4 separate regions of the Homo sapiens genome follow, and regions 2, 3 and 4 are each linked to region 1. Evidence: promoter capture Hi-C in human tissues and cell types (Jung and others, 2019). All regions are on one chromosome and are shown on one strand. Each heading gives the region's core, a stretch centred on a gene start or on the middle of the fragment in contact. The rest is flanking DNA. Distances are from core to core; before and after follow the strand shown.

What was found. The method cuts DNA at HindIII sites, captures the fragments that hold promoters and counts their contacts. A contact is called where the count stands out against the background at its distance.
Region 2: a contact is called between a fragment that was not itself captured here and the fragment with the promoter of GPR85 in region 1, in 1 of the 25 tissues and cell types used here (mesenchymal stem cells).
Region 3: a contact is called between a fragment that was not itself captured here and the fragment with the promoter of GPR85 in region 1, in 2 of the 25 tissues and cell types used here (lymphoblastoid cells and mesenchymal stem cells).
Region 4: a fragment that was not itself captured here is called in contact with the fragment with the promoter of GPR85 in region 1 in 3 of the 25 tissues and cell types used here (dorsolateral prefrontal cortex, lymphoblastoid cells and spleen).

The regions. Positions count from the first base shown.
Region 1 is chr7:113,085,546-113,089,167 of GRCh38, forward strand. GPR85 (G protein-coupled receptor 85) reads right to left here and starts at 1,282. Exons shown (of 3, transcript NM_001146267.2): 1 at 777-1,282; 2 at 447-564. RefSeq lists a silencer at 968-1,027. The HindIII fragment of the contact is 9,773 bases long and covers 1-3,622 here.
Region 2 is chr7:112,668,451-112,672,405 of GRCh38, forward strand. The region is part of intron 5 of LOC101928012 (a long non-coding RNA gene); the gene reads left to right. Among named protein-coding and RNA genes, the nearest start is that of LINC03076, 52 kb to the left of the region's middle. The HindIII fragment of the contact is 7,161 bases long and covers 1-3,955 here.
Region 3 is chr7:112,648,962-112,652,640 of GRCh38, forward strand. All of the region lies in intron 5 of LOC101928012 (a long non-coding RNA gene), which reads left to right. Among named protein-coding and RNA genes, the nearest start is that of LINC03076, 33 kb to the left of the region's middle. The HindIII fragment of the contact is 6,629 bases long and covers 1-3,679 here.
Region 4 is chr7:112,778,980-112,782,677 of GRCh38, forward strand. All of the region lies in intron 2 of TMEM168 (transmembrane protein 168), which reads right to left. Among named protein-coding and RNA genes, the nearest start is that of TMEM168, 9.6 kb to the right of the region's middle. RefSeq lists an enhancer at 3,552-3,698. The HindIII fragment of the contact is 6,688 bases long and covers 1-3,698 here.

The DNA.
Region 1 (3,622 bases), core at 32-2,531:
CAGGGAAACACACCCAGAGGAATAATGCACTTCCATTTGTAAACCTTGGCTGCCTGGATTCAAATGAATATAACATGAACCTGTATTTCTTGGGCAATTAAGCCTTTCCCATTTACACTGATAACCTTTGTTGCAAATCACAAGTGGCTGCTTTTTAAAACAAAATGCACATTGTCTCGCAGGTGCCTGGACCACACCAGGGAAATCGGCTTCCTCTGTTATTCCCACCAAGCGTGTTTCTTTTGCCACTTCTCACTGGCCCGGAATATGCTGGTGGAAGCCCAGGCAAAACTGCGTTCGATGATTTTAATTTCCCCACCGGTACATCCTCGGGTAAATACCGATCGCATCATGCAACATTACGAAACCTGAAATCCGCCACCCCTGGATTTATAATGGGGGGAGGGTGGAGGAGGGGGAGAGGGAGAGAGACATGCATTACATACGCGAAGATGGGGAGAGAGATTGCTTCTGTGCTGCAAAGGAACCGTTCCCGGTGATTCGCAGTCTGATATTCCTCAGTCTTGTAAGGCTTTCCAGAAATGGAGCTCTCAGTAAGCCCTACTGAAGATGCATTGTCTGAATGTACTTCCATTATGCAGTTTATTGTCACAAAACACATACACACACACACACACACACACACACAGAGACACACACACACACACACACACACACAACCTGAGGGAGGGCTCTTTCTCGGTGAACCTGCAGTTTCATCAACACTGTGCATTCCCCCACATCCCCCAAACTTAACCAAGAGTATATCCTCCTACCTGTTGGTGTTGGATATCCCGACAGACTATAGCTTCTTTCTATAAATTGCTGATTTTTTTCTTTTTTTCTTTTTCTTTTTTTTTTTTTTTTTTTTGTTTTTTGTTTTTTTTTTTTTTTTTTTTGCCTTAGTGCCTTGACTGAGCATCCAGGCAGGGCTCGGCGGCGCCTGCGCGCTGGAGCCTCCTTGAGCTCCAGCCGCGTCCTCCCCTGTCGCAGCGGCACCGTCTCCCCCAGTAACGCAGGGGCCGCGGCGGCGGCGGCTGCGGTGGCGAGGGCGGCGGCGGGGCTGCTTCAGCCTCTGTGGAACCAGCAGGAACCCCTACCTGACTCCAGAGCTGGCTGGGTTTATTGACTGCCCTGTCCAATCCAACTGGCAGCATTAAGCTTTTGTCCCTTCGTGGCTGCTTCTGAACTTTTCCCTCCCCGCATTTGTAGTGGGGGGCTGGAAAGGCCCTTTCAGGACCTCAGGCCCATCCTCTTCCCAAAGGCAGCGCACGAGGAAGTCACAGTGCCCGTGACGCCCGCCCCCTCCCTCAGCTTCCCGGAACCCTAACCTTCCCCAGACACTTTCTTCCCTTTTCTTTTAGGGTGGTCCAAACCACCGGAGGCTTCTTTTATATATTTATTTTTAAGTGATGTCTCCAGCTAACCTTTAAATTTGCAGGTTAGCTGGAAAAAGACAAGAAAAGAATGGGAAAAAAGAAAAAAAGTTATTTATTTATTTATTTATCTTTTTCCCACAGTTAAAAATCTTTTCAATGGGGAAGAAGGGAAGGCACGTTAGGGCAGCTCTCTCTTTGTTAGTCATCTTCTATTCTCCAATGCACGCAAATATGCGTAAAAGTAGGGAGAAAGCTAAGTTCAGAGGACAACTACAATATGATTTACATTCAGTCTACCTTAAAGGATGTCACTAAAGAATCAGGCTTATAAAATGTTTAAATGGCTATTCCTGGCATTCCACCCCACCAAGCAACAGTATTCCTTTTCCCTTCTTACAAGTTCCGCTGACCAATGATGGGTGATGTCAAAGCAGTTATGTGTACGAGTTTCCTTTTTTCCCCTTTGTTATTACAGATGAAAAATACTAGAAATATAACAAATACGTAAAACTTACACCAGTCCAAACGGTCGGATGATACCACAGACACCACAAAGCCTGACACGTGGGTGCTTAGGAATGCCTCTAGAATCATGCATTTTCTTATTTTACCATTTCCGAAGAGTTTTGTTTGTGGAGGTGATATAAAATTTTAAGCAACAACTTCCCAGTTCTCCTACCCAAAACTAGCAGACACGCTTTCATTAATTCCCAATGTAAAACGTCTGCTTCTTTTTCTGCATGCTTTTTGCTTTATAATAATCTGTTAATGAAACAAAAAATAAAAATCTTCTCTACAGTAATAATCTGATCTTGAGACAGCAGTAAAATACCTCATTGCTGGGTGGTGAGATTGTGACATTCAGGGGAACTCAGGCCAATCAGCATACAGATAATATGGGTTAATTTACATACTGTATTTCTATTGGATGAGCCGAGGTAAAGCCTTATCTTGATGTCACAGTCGTTACACAAAGCCCTATGTTGGTAATACTGAAATGATGTTAAATTTCCCTGATTTGTTCTTGAATTTCCTACGTCCATTTAAATACATGGATAATAGTTTGTTTTTTTCGAAAAGAATATACACAAGGCACTAAACTTTGGCATTCCCTTAACCTAGAAAAATCAATCCTACAGCCATGCTGGAAGTAACTTGAGGGCATTTCCATTCAAATAAAACATTCCACTTTTTGCAAAGCAAATGAATTCAAAACTCAAAACCATGTGGTGGTTTGCAACTTCTAAGTAAAATGTCAAATTCGTTTTTATGAAACTACAAATCACTTCAACTTGTGCTTTTTTGCTTCCCAATAAATGCTTCAATGTACTTTGCAAAGAGTTATTTCCTGAATTTTTACAGTTTTAAAAAATGTATGGAATAAGAGGCTTAAGTTTGCTGAAGATTCATGATTGGTCAGATGTTAGGTTGTACAGATTAGGGAAAAGCTATTTTAAAGTAAATTAAAAGAGTCACTGCACTGCCAGGCCATGAAGCAGTAATATACTCTGCCAAAAGTTATAGGGCCAAGATCCAAGGGTTTTAACTAGTCTTATTCTTTAAGCAGATATTGATTCCTTAAAAATAAGGGAGAGGGTATATGTGTATGCAATATTCTTTCATATCCACATCTCAGGGTATAGTAAAGCTATTTTTTTCCTTTGCAGTTGAGCACAGTTACATCCACTAATTCTTCAGCTTTTCCAGCTGTTGGATAAGAATGTCATTTTCTTGCCTCACAAGGGGACTCAAGAAATTAATGAGATATTTTCTATCTAGCTCATTAACTCTACTGGAGAAAACATTGGAAGCTACATCTTTCATCAGCAGGGCTTTAAAAAATATGTTTAATAGCTGACAAAAGTTTCATATCATCTACAAGTTCTCAAATGTAAAGTTATTGCTTCAAATTGTTTAGATCATAGGCTTAGTTGGTCTTAACTAATTTCTTTTTTTTTTATCCCCTACATCACCAAACCCAGAAAATTTGATTTTCAGGTTAAGAGTAAAAGAACAAAGCAAATACAACAAAACTATATGCTCTAATCCTTGGGTTTGAAGGGTTCTGAAGATTTACAAACTGTTGGAATATTACATGTACTATATTGATCAGTGTATTAGGAAAACTGATATAATTTGCTTAATTTGGTTCTTATAAAAAGTACATACCATTTTATTTTAAAAACCAATGACCTTGCTTTCAAAATTAATCTATTTCAGATTTTTGCCAACTGATGCATAGT
Region 2 (3,955 bases), core at 1,204-3,703, 420 kb before region 1:
ATTACAGGCGTGAGCCACCGCGCCCAACCGAAGTCCTTAAGTTTTGAGAAAAGCCTAACTTATAAGCTTAGGCAAGTTTCTTAAATCTCTGTGCCTCTGTCTCCTCTTCTGATAAATGGGAAAAACAATAGGACTTACATCATAGGGTTGTTGTAAGGAGTAAATGACTTAAAATATTTAAAGTGTTTGGAATAGTTGCCAGCACAAAGCTGTTGTTGTTATTGCATGATTGATTGTTGTTGTCTCACCCCGGGACATCTCTGTGGCCAGAGGTTGACCTAAATATGTCTGGGAGCAGGAATGAGAGCACTGTCATTGGCATCACAGGAATGGGGCAGAGCAGGAGCCCCAAAAGAGGATGTGGGAAAGGAAGGTGTGTCAGCCAAACAGAAACAGCTTTCCACTGTTTTCCTCATCCATAAAATAGCTTTACTATTAAGTTAAGTGTGATTGTGAGAATAATGATGTATGTGAAGTGCCTGTCATGTGGCAGGCCTTCAAGATATAATAGTTACTTAATCTACACATGACAAAACCACAGCCTGGGCTGGTTACAGTAATGGGCATTAATGAAATTATTATTTTGAAGGAAAATCAGAAGGATCTAGATTGGTTTGTGGATTGTATTGATGGTGGCCAGGGGCTGTGACTTTGGATGTTTTCCTATTAGGCTCTGCCTTGTAACAGAGAGCAGTCATACTTACATATATTCACATTAAAAGCATGTCTTGTTATTTCCTCCTATGGCCCTGGGAGTGGGAGTGTTCCTCAGGAAGAGGTGCATCCTGCAGTGTCTCTAGCTGGGTGGTATTTGGTCCATGCTACAGTCTAAGCAGCCTGAAGGGTGCCAGGATCCTGGGTTATACTTCTTTCAGTCAGAGGCTGTGGCCTCTTTAGTAACTGTCTCAGCAGACATATAAGTGTCCACAGCTGGCCAAAGAGAATACTGCTATCCCAAACCCATAATGGGAGAGGGTGTCCTTTTTTTGTGAGGCTAACAGGAGTATTGTGGTTCTTACCAGTTGCTACCAGATGACTCAGTTATTCTACTCTTTGCCTCATCTCAATATCCATGTTATTCAAAATCCAAACCAACACTTACATCATCATATTACATTGTGATGATTAATTCTATAGGCCAACTTGATTGGGTCTTGAGTGTCATGGGCTGCTGGCTAACCATTATTTCTCATCCTCATGTGCCTCTGAGGATGTTTCTGGAAAAAATTCCCATTTGAATGGGCAGACTGAGTAAAGCACATGACCCTCCCCAGCATGAGTGGGTATCATCCAGTCCATTGAGGGCCTGAATAGAACAAAAAGGCCAAGGAAGGTTTAATTAACTCTGACGGACTGCTTGATCTGGGACATCAGTCTTCCTCTGTTGGTGCTCCTGGCTCTCAAGTCTTTAGACCCAGACTGGAATCTATACTATTGGCTCTCAGGCTCTCAGACCTTGGAACTACATCACCAGCTTTCCTGGGCCTCTAGCTTGTAGATTGCAGATTGTGAACCTTCTCAGACTCCATAATGCCTGAGCAACAACTTAATAAATTCCATCATATATATATATATATGCATTATCTCCCATTGGTTCAATTTCTCTGGAGAACCCTGACCAATACATACAGTTCATAAATTTTGGCATCTAGTCTTCTACTAGTTAAATTGGTAATCTAATGATCATCTTTTTAAAAAATCCATGATATGATACATTGAGAATGGAAATCCAGGCCCAAGAGAGAGAATCCCAGACCTTCTTCAGCCTCAGAAATAAAAGATAGGCTTTTAAGGCCTCAGCTGAGAGACATGAAAATATTTTTTCATTTTAAATCCTTTAGAATGTATAAGGTAGAATACTCAAACCCTCAGTGATCCTTTGTCTGTGATGTGCTCGGGATGAGCAAGAAAAACTGCACTGCGAATCCTAGCAAGCTTTTAACTGTGGCATTGCTCTGAAAAAAATTACGTGAAAGGAGTTTTATAAGCATTTGATTGACATCGATTCTCACAGGAAAGAAAAAGCCTGGGAAGAGAATGAGGAAGAAAAAATTGAACTTTTGATTTATAGTTCAAGAGCACAGCAGACTAAAGAGAATTAAATAAAGGAGGTTAGGGAACAAAACAGAAAAGAAGGTAAAATATAGGTGGTAAAAAGGAAGCTACAGAGGATTCTACAGAACAGGAGATTGTGGGATATCTTTGTTTCAAGATAGTACTCTCTAATGTGTGGGAAATTGGGAGAGGGTTTATTATTTGTGAGGGTTACTTGACTTCATGTTAAGTGTTGATGACACTCATTGACCAGAGTTTTATTTGACATGCAAAATCCCTAGTTTGCACCTAAAATTTTATTATTTCTTTATAATCTCAATAATCCTGAGGCTGCCAAACGTGTGTGCACATATACCTATTTGTGTGTGTGTGTGTGTATATATATATGTGTGTGTGTGTTCTTTGTAGGAACACATCCAAAATGGGTGCAACCAGCACTACCATTTCCTTCTCTAACAAAATTGTAATACAATATATATTATATTACAATTATGTAATTGTATTATAATTATGTATTATTACAATTCTGTTATAGAAGAAAAAAGTAGTGCAGGTTGCACCCATCTTGGATGTGTTTCTATGACAACAGTACCTCATCTGCTCATATATCAGCTTTATGCTAATTTTGTTATTAATACATTGGTTGACTTTGGAGTTAGAGCCTTCTAAATTACCTGGTTGTATTGAGCAAATGAATTAATATTCACCATTCCCCATCCTAACTAATTAATAGCAGTGGAGCAGTAGCAGTAACAATTTCTACCTCTCTAGTATTTTACAATTTACAAAGTGCTTTCTTAGATTTATCTCATTTGATAAATAGATATACAAGTGAGTGCTGCATGCATGCAACTAGCTCTTTTGGCAAACAAAATGCCATAGTTAAGTGAGGGTATGTATCTCTTTTCTTACAACCATAGGTATTGAATTCTATACCAAGCCCTATTTCAATAAAAAATTTAAGTAGACAAATATCGGTTGCAACATGAACGATAGGTTTAATTAATACAAAAGACACAGAAAGCATGTTAATAACCAAAACTGCAGTGCTCTACCCACTGAGCATCAGACAGTAACACAGAAAAGTAAAACAAGCTCTACTGCTGATTAAGATTAATTGAAAAGATTCCCAGAAAGTAGAAAAGTACAGCTCAATTTTGCTTTAAAAACGTTAAATATATTTAGCACATGCGTTTCTTTTTGTAATTGATTTATGGCTGATTATCATTTAAAAGAGTTTGATTTAATGTTTTTCTTACAGCTGTATTGAGGGTTAATTGATATATAATAAATGGCATATATTTACAGTGTACAGTATGAGAAGCTATGGCATACATGTACACTCATGAAACCATTACCATAATCAAGATAATAACATACCCATTACTCCCTGATATGGTTAGTCTTTGTGTCCCCACCCAAACCTCATCTTGAGTTGTAATCCCCATAATTCCCATAATCCCCACGTGTCAAGGGAGACACCAGGTGGAGGTAATTGAATCATAGGGACAGTTTCCCCCATGCTGTTCCTGCGATAGTGAGTGACTTCTCACGACATCTGATGGTTTCATAAGGAGCTCTTGCCCCTTCATTTGGCACTACTCCTTCCTGCCGCCTTGTGAAGAAGGTGCCTTGCTTCCCCTTTGCCTTCTGCCGTGATTGTAAGTTACCTGAGGCCTCCCCAGCCATGGTGAACTGTGAGTCAAACCTCTTTCCTTTATAAATTACCCAGTAAACTGTACATTTGTATCCAACTCTCAGTAAACTGGATAATTTATAAAGGAAAGAGATTTAATTGACTCACAGTTCACCATGGCTGGGGAGGAAAGGTGGAAGAGCCCCTTATAAAACCATCAGATCTTGTGAGAACTCTCAGGCAGTTCTTGATAGCAGTTGAAAA
Region 3 (3,679 bases), core at 350-2,849, 440 kb before region 1:
CCAGATGGCCTATCCCACTCCAGGCTGGGATGACTCATGAAGGTCTTTTCCGAATGAAGTAAACTTATAAAGTCTGGAAGAGGGAACAGCTTAGTCAAATGCATAGACACCAATGCAAGGATGCAAGCATCACGAAGAATCAGAGGAACATGACATTACCAAAGAAAACAAATAAAGCTTCAATAACTGACTCTAAAGAAATAAGTATCTATAAACTGACTGGCAAAGAATTCAGAATAACCCTATTAAAGAAGTTTGTAACTACAAGAAGACACAGATAGGCAACTAAACAAAATTAGGAAAACAATACATGAACAAATGAAATGTTCAACAAAGAAAGCTGAAGAACGGAATTCTTCAACTAAAAAGTTCAATAAAGAGCTGATAGACTCAGGCAAGCAGAAGAAAGAATCAGTGAACTTGAAGACATCCTTTGAAATTATCCAGAGGAGTAAAAAATCAAAAAAATGAAAAACAGTGAAGAAACCCTATAGGGTTTATAGGACAGTATAAGCAAAACATATACATATAATGGGAGTCCTAGAATGGGAGAGAGAATGGGAAGAAAGTCTATTTTAAAGAATAATGACTGTAAACTTCCCAAATTTGGGGAGAGAAATGGACATTGAGATTCATTAGACCCAAAGGTTCTCAAATAGTTTGATCTCAAAGAGGTATACAGCAAGTAAATTAGCAGAATTCAAAGGCAAAGAGAGAATTTTGAAAGTACCAAGAGAAAAGTGACTCATCACATATGAGGGAGTCTCCATCAGATTGTCACTGGATTACTCATCAGAAACCTTGCAGGCCAGGAGAGAGTAGGGTCATATATTAAAAATATTGAAAGCAGTAAAACTGCCAAGAATACTATACCCAGGAAAGTTGTCCTTGAGAAATGAAGGAAAGATAAAGACTTTCCCAAACAAAAGCTGTGGGGGTTTATTACTACTAGACCTGCCTTACAAGAAATGCTAAAGGGAGTTAAGGGAGTTTTTCAATCTGAAATGAAATGATTATAATTAACAATGTAAAAATATATGAATGTATAAAACTCACTGGGAAAGGTAAATACAGTCAGCCCTCTATATCTTTGGGTTTCACATCTGTCAAGTCAACCAACCACAGATTTAAAATATTAGAAAAAAATCACATCAGTATTGAAGATGTGCAGACATTTTTCTTGTCATTCTTCCCTAGACAATACAGTGTAACAACTATTTATATAGTATTTACACTTTATTAGGTATTATAGGTAAATTAGAGATGATTTAACGTTGGAAAATGTGCATAGGTTATATGCAAATATTATGCCACTTTTTATCAGGGATTTGAGCATCTGAAAATTTTGGTATCCACAGAAAGTTCTGGAATCAATCCACCACAAACAGTGAGGGGCAAGTGTATATAGTTAAATTCTGAATTTTCTAATATTGAAATAGTGTTATGTAAATCACTTTCAACTCTAGTGTAAAAGTTTAAAGACAAATATTAAAAGTAACTTTAACTGCAATAATTTGTTAATGAATACACAATATTAAACAGATGTAAATTGTAACATTAATAACCTTAAATGTGACTTGGTGAGGAGAATTAAAAGTATAGAGTTTTTTTTGATGTGATTCAACCTATTATGAGCTTAAAATAAAATGTTATAACTGTAAACTATTTTTAAATAAGCCTCATGATAGCCACAAAGGAAATATGTGTAGTTGATACAGAAAAAATTAAGATAAAGGAATCCAAGCATACCACCATAAAAAGTCATAAAATCACAAAGGAAAACAGCAAAAGAAGAAGGGAAGAGAGGAACTCCAAAGCAGAAAACAACAAAATGGCAGTAGTAAGTCCTTGCCTATTGATAATTAAATATAAGTGGATTAAGTTATCTAATCAAGAAACATAGAGTGGCCAAATGGATTTTAAAAACCAAGATCCAACTATGCTGCATATAGGAGACTCACTTTCAGTTTAAAGACATGCATAGGTCTCAAGTGAGAAATAATTTGGCAAATAAAAATTAAAAAATAAAAAAAAGACACACATAAGCTGGAAGTGAAGGAATGGAAAATAATATCCCATGCATATGGTAATCTAAAGAAAGTTGGGGTGGCTACTTAGACAAAATAGACTTTAAGTCAAGAACTGTGACAAGAGACAAAGAGGGCCATTATACAATGACAAGGGGGTCATGTCGTCAAGAGGATATAACAATTGTAAATATATATGTACCCAAAACTGGAGTACCTAAATATATAAAGGAAATATTAACAGAACTGGAGGGAGGAGAAATAGATAGTAATACAATAGTGGTAGGGGACTTCAATACCCACCTTCCACAATGACAGCAAATCAGTAAGGGAACAGAAGAGTTAAACAATGTTGTAGACCAAGTGGCTCTAACAGACAAATACAGAACATTCTATCCAAAAGCAGCAGATTACATATTATCCAAGTAAAGATCAAATGTTAGGACTTAAAACAAGTCTTAAAATTTTTTAAGAAGATTGCAATCATATCAAGTATCTTTTCTGACCACAATGGTATAAAACTGGAAATCAATGACAGGAGAAAAATGGAAAACCACAAATATGTGGAAATTATGCAACACATTTCTGAACAACCAATGGGAAAAAGAAGAAACCAAAAAGGAAATTTAAAAAATATCTTGAGACAAATAAAATGGAAACACAACATACTAAAACTTATGGGATGCAGCAAAACCAGTTCTTAATATAGCAATAAATGCCTATGTCAAGAAAAATGAAAGATCTCAAATAACCTAACTTTAAACATCAAGGAAGAAGAAGAAGAAATCTCAAACTTAGCCGAATAAACAAAGTAATAAAGATAAGAACAAAACACATGAAATACAGATTAGAAAGACAATATAAAAGATTAACAAAATGAAGACTTTGATTTTTGAAAAGACAAACAAAATTGGCAAATTTAGCTAGATAACCAAGAAATAAAGAGAGGATTGAAATCAAATTATGAATGAAAGAGAAGGCATTACAACTGATACCATCCAACCACAAAGGGTCATAAGAGATTACTATGAACAATTATATACCAACAAATTGGGTAACCTTTTCTAGAAATATACGACCTACCAAGACTGACTCATAAAGAAATAGAAAATCTAAACACACCAGTAAAGAGTAAGGAGATTGAATTGTTAATTAAAAACTACCCAACAAAGAAGAGAACAGGACCGATGGTATCACTGATGGATTCCACCAAATATTTAATGAGCAGTTAATGCCAATTCTTTTCAAACTTCCAAAAAATTAAAGAGGAGGAAACACTTCCAAACCTGTTCAATGAGGCCGGCATTACCCCAACACCAAAGCCAGATATGGATACTACAAGGAAAGGAAATTACAGGCCAATATCCCTGATGAAAATAGATATAAAAATTCTCAACCAAATACTAGCAAACAAAATACTAGCAAAATTCAACAATACATTAAAAGGAGCATACACCATGATCAAGTGGAATTTATTCCAGGCATGTAAGGGTGGCATGATATACCAAATCAATAAGTATGATACAACACTTTAACAAAATGGAGGATAAAAATCATGTGATCATTTCAGTAGGTGCAAAAAAAGCATTTGACAAAATTCAACGTTCTTTCATTGTAAAAATTTTAAAAATTGGGTATAGAAGCAATATACC
Region 4 (3,698 bases), core at 1,155-3,654, 310 kb before region 1:
TCAGGCTCATGTGATCCTACCACCTCAGCCACCCAAGTAGCTTGGGACCACAGGCACATGCACCACCATGCCTGGCTAATTTTTTTATTTTTGTAGAGACAAGGTCTCCCTATGTTGCCCAGGCTGGTCTCAAACTCCTGGGTTCAAGCAATCCTCCTGCCTTGGCCTCCCAAACTGCTGGAATTACAAATGTGAGTCATCATGCCTGGCCCTGTCATACATTTTTAGAAAGCAAATTTATCAGGAAAAAATCATTAAGTACTTCTATTAGGTTATTTTGAAAAAGCAAGCTTAGAAAAACAGTATTAAATATTCTATTATGATCACACACAAGTTAGTATTTTGGCAATACAAAAATTCGTAATCTTAACTGAACAGATGGCAAGTATGTCCAGGGGAAGCCAAAATAAATTTAGGATGTTTTGTCTGCTTGCCACTTTCAGAGAGCTTCAATTTTATTGGCCTGCAAACCTTTATTCTATAGCTTCAATCTAGAAGTCATTTGTGACTTTGGAGTACTCCTTACACCTTAATTCCAAGTAACAAATAAGATCAATTGATTCAAGCCTACAAGTACTTATTCTCCTTTGCTTCTCCAAATTATCCTCAGCTCATTATCAAATTTTAAGACATGGCTCATATTTCAGAGCAGATATAAACTGAGCACAAAAGAAGACCAATAAACAACCTGTAAGTAATGCCCTTTGAATAAAAGTTGTTACTAGTTATTAGATCTCTATTCAGCTGGGCTTTCAAGTCATGGTCAAAGTATTCAATGTTTCATATCCTAAAATTTTTCAGATAACAGGAACAAAATTTCTTTATGCAATGTCATTTTTAAAATGTAACATTTACATAAACATATACGGCTTGTTTGTTTAGAAGCATTCTTGTATGAGTCACCTTATGCAAACCAGATTTGGAAAACATACATAGAAGTCTAAAGAAAGTAAAGCCCAACTAAGAAACAGTATACGTAAATGCGGCAATATATAAATGGAGAGACTGTGAGAAATCCAGCTTTAAGAAACCACAGGCGACTTTCAAAACTTTGCTTGTTTCAGGAAATTTAAGAACATTATGAAGGCTACTGTATAATTTTAAAGTCAAATGACTTCTTTACGTGGAAGAAGTAGGGCATAGTGGAAAGGACCCAAGCTTCGGAGTTAGACTTTTGTTCAATCCCAGCTCAGCCACTTGCTATGTGTACACGAATAAGTTAATTAACCTTTTGAGTCTTGATTTCTGGAATATATACAGAGATAATTTATGTCATGAGCTTATTCTGTAGATTAGAAATACATATGTATGGCAGTATAAAGTTAAAAGAAATGCTTTCCACATGACCCAGCAATCCCACATCACACTAAAATAAAAGCTTATGTTAACACAAACCCTTGTCTACAAAGGTTTATAGCAGCTTTATTCATAATTACCAAAAAACTGCAAATAATTTCAGTGTCTCTCAACTGAGTAAGGGATAAACTGGAACATCCATACAATGGGATATTGCTCACAATAAAAGTAACTAACTTACTGATGGCACACAGCAACACAGATGAATCTCAAATGATTTAAATAAGAAGTCAGACTCAGGGCCAGGTGCAGTGGCTCACACCTATAATCCCAGCACTTTGGAAGGCCAAGGCAGGGAGGACTGCTTGAGCGCAGGAGGTCGAGGCTGCAGTGAGCCATGATTGTACCATTGTACTCTAGCCCACACTGCAGAGCAAGACCCTGTCTCAAAAACAAAAGTCAGGCTCAAAAGACTACAATGTTAAATGATTTTACGAATATGACATTCTGGAAAAGGAAAATGTCTAGGAACGGAAAACAGGTTGCCAAGTACCTGGGGTTGGGAGAAGGACTGACTACAAGGAAGCAAGAGGGAATTTTGGCAGTGATTTAACTGCTCTACAAATTGACTGTGGTAGTGGTGGTCACACAAATACATGATCCGTATCAAAAAAAAAAAAAAAAAAAAAACGGGGGCACAGATAGTTAATATTTTGTTTTGCAGGCCATACAATCTCTGTTTTAACTACTCAACTATGCTGTTTACCATAATTACAAGAGTTAATATGGTAAGAAGATATAACAAACATGCATTTACCTCTAGGAACAGTGCTTCAAAATAAAGAAGCAAAAAAAAAAAAAGACAGAATTGAAAAAGCAAGTAGACAATTCAGGAACTATAATAGAGATTTTCATCTCTCTCAGTATTACAGAATTAGACAGAAAATTAACAAGGCTATAGATACATGAACACCACCACCAACCAACTTAATCTAGCTGATATTTATAGTACACTGTACCCAACAACAGAGGACTCATTATTTTCAAGTGAACATGGAATAAAACATGCCATGCCACAAAACAAGTGGCCTAAAAGACTAAAATCACACAGTGTTCTCCAACTACATGGAATTAGAAATCAATGGAAAGAAATGTGAGAAACTTCCAAATATTAGGATATCACACAACAAACTTATAAATAACCCATGAGTCAAAGAGGAAATTTCAAAGGAAATTAGAAAACATCTCACCAGATGGCATAGTGCTAGCACAATGGTAGACATATAGGTCAATATAACAAAAAAACTCAAAAATACAACCTTACGTTTATGTTTAACTGATTTTAAACAAAGACGCCAAGGCAATTCAATAGGCGAAATGTTAATCTTTTCAACAAATGGTGCTGGGAACAATGAGATCTATATATTAAAAAAAAAAAAACAAACTTAGATCCTTATCTCATACTATACTCAAAATGGATCATACACCTAAATGTAACAGTTAAAACAATAATGCTTTTGAAAGAACTGTGACCTAGTGTTGAGCAAAGAATTCTTAGATAAGATACTAAAAGCAGAGCCCATAAAAGAAAAAGTGGATAAACTGGACTCTGTAAAATTAAAAACCTTTACTCTTGAAAACTCTTCAAAAATTTGTATCATTCAGAAAATAAAAACAGAAGCCACAGACTGGGAGTAAACATTTCCAAATCATTTATCTGACAAAGGGCTCGTATCCAGAATATATAAGGAACTCTTAAAAGACAAATAACCTCAGCTTTAAAATGAGCAAAAGATGTGAATATTTAAACAACAAAGTAAATGGCTAATACACACATAAAAAGATGCTCAACATCATTAGTCATTAGAGACATAAATTAAAACCACAATGCTATCACCTACAGCTAAAGGGATTCTCAAGTAGATCAACTTTAGGAAAGAGTAGAATGGAAGGTGAGAATCAGGAAACTGATTCTCTTAAAATTATCTCTGCTGACAGACTCCTTGGAAAGTTTTTGTGTACCTCCAGTGGTACACACCATATCTGAAGACCACTAGGTAAGAAAAAGTTTGGAGACCAAGAAAATATTCATATTTGGTTAACAGAATTTGAAAGCCTGGAATGGCATCCAGCATGAATGAGGCTGACTTGGAAAAGAAAAAGTATTTAGGGCTGGGAAAGGAGCTAGCAGGAGGAGGGGCAAGGAAGAGGGAGGAAAACTCATGCTTGAGTTTTTGACATCAACAACATAATTCTGACAGTACCTAACACCAGCAAGTAGAGCAAAGTAAGGACAATATCCTCAGGCCACACCCAAGATGTTTTCCTCATTTGGCTGACTCCCACACAGGATCCCTGCCCTAGCCCAGCTGACTAGAAATCTAGCACCATGTCCAGGCAAG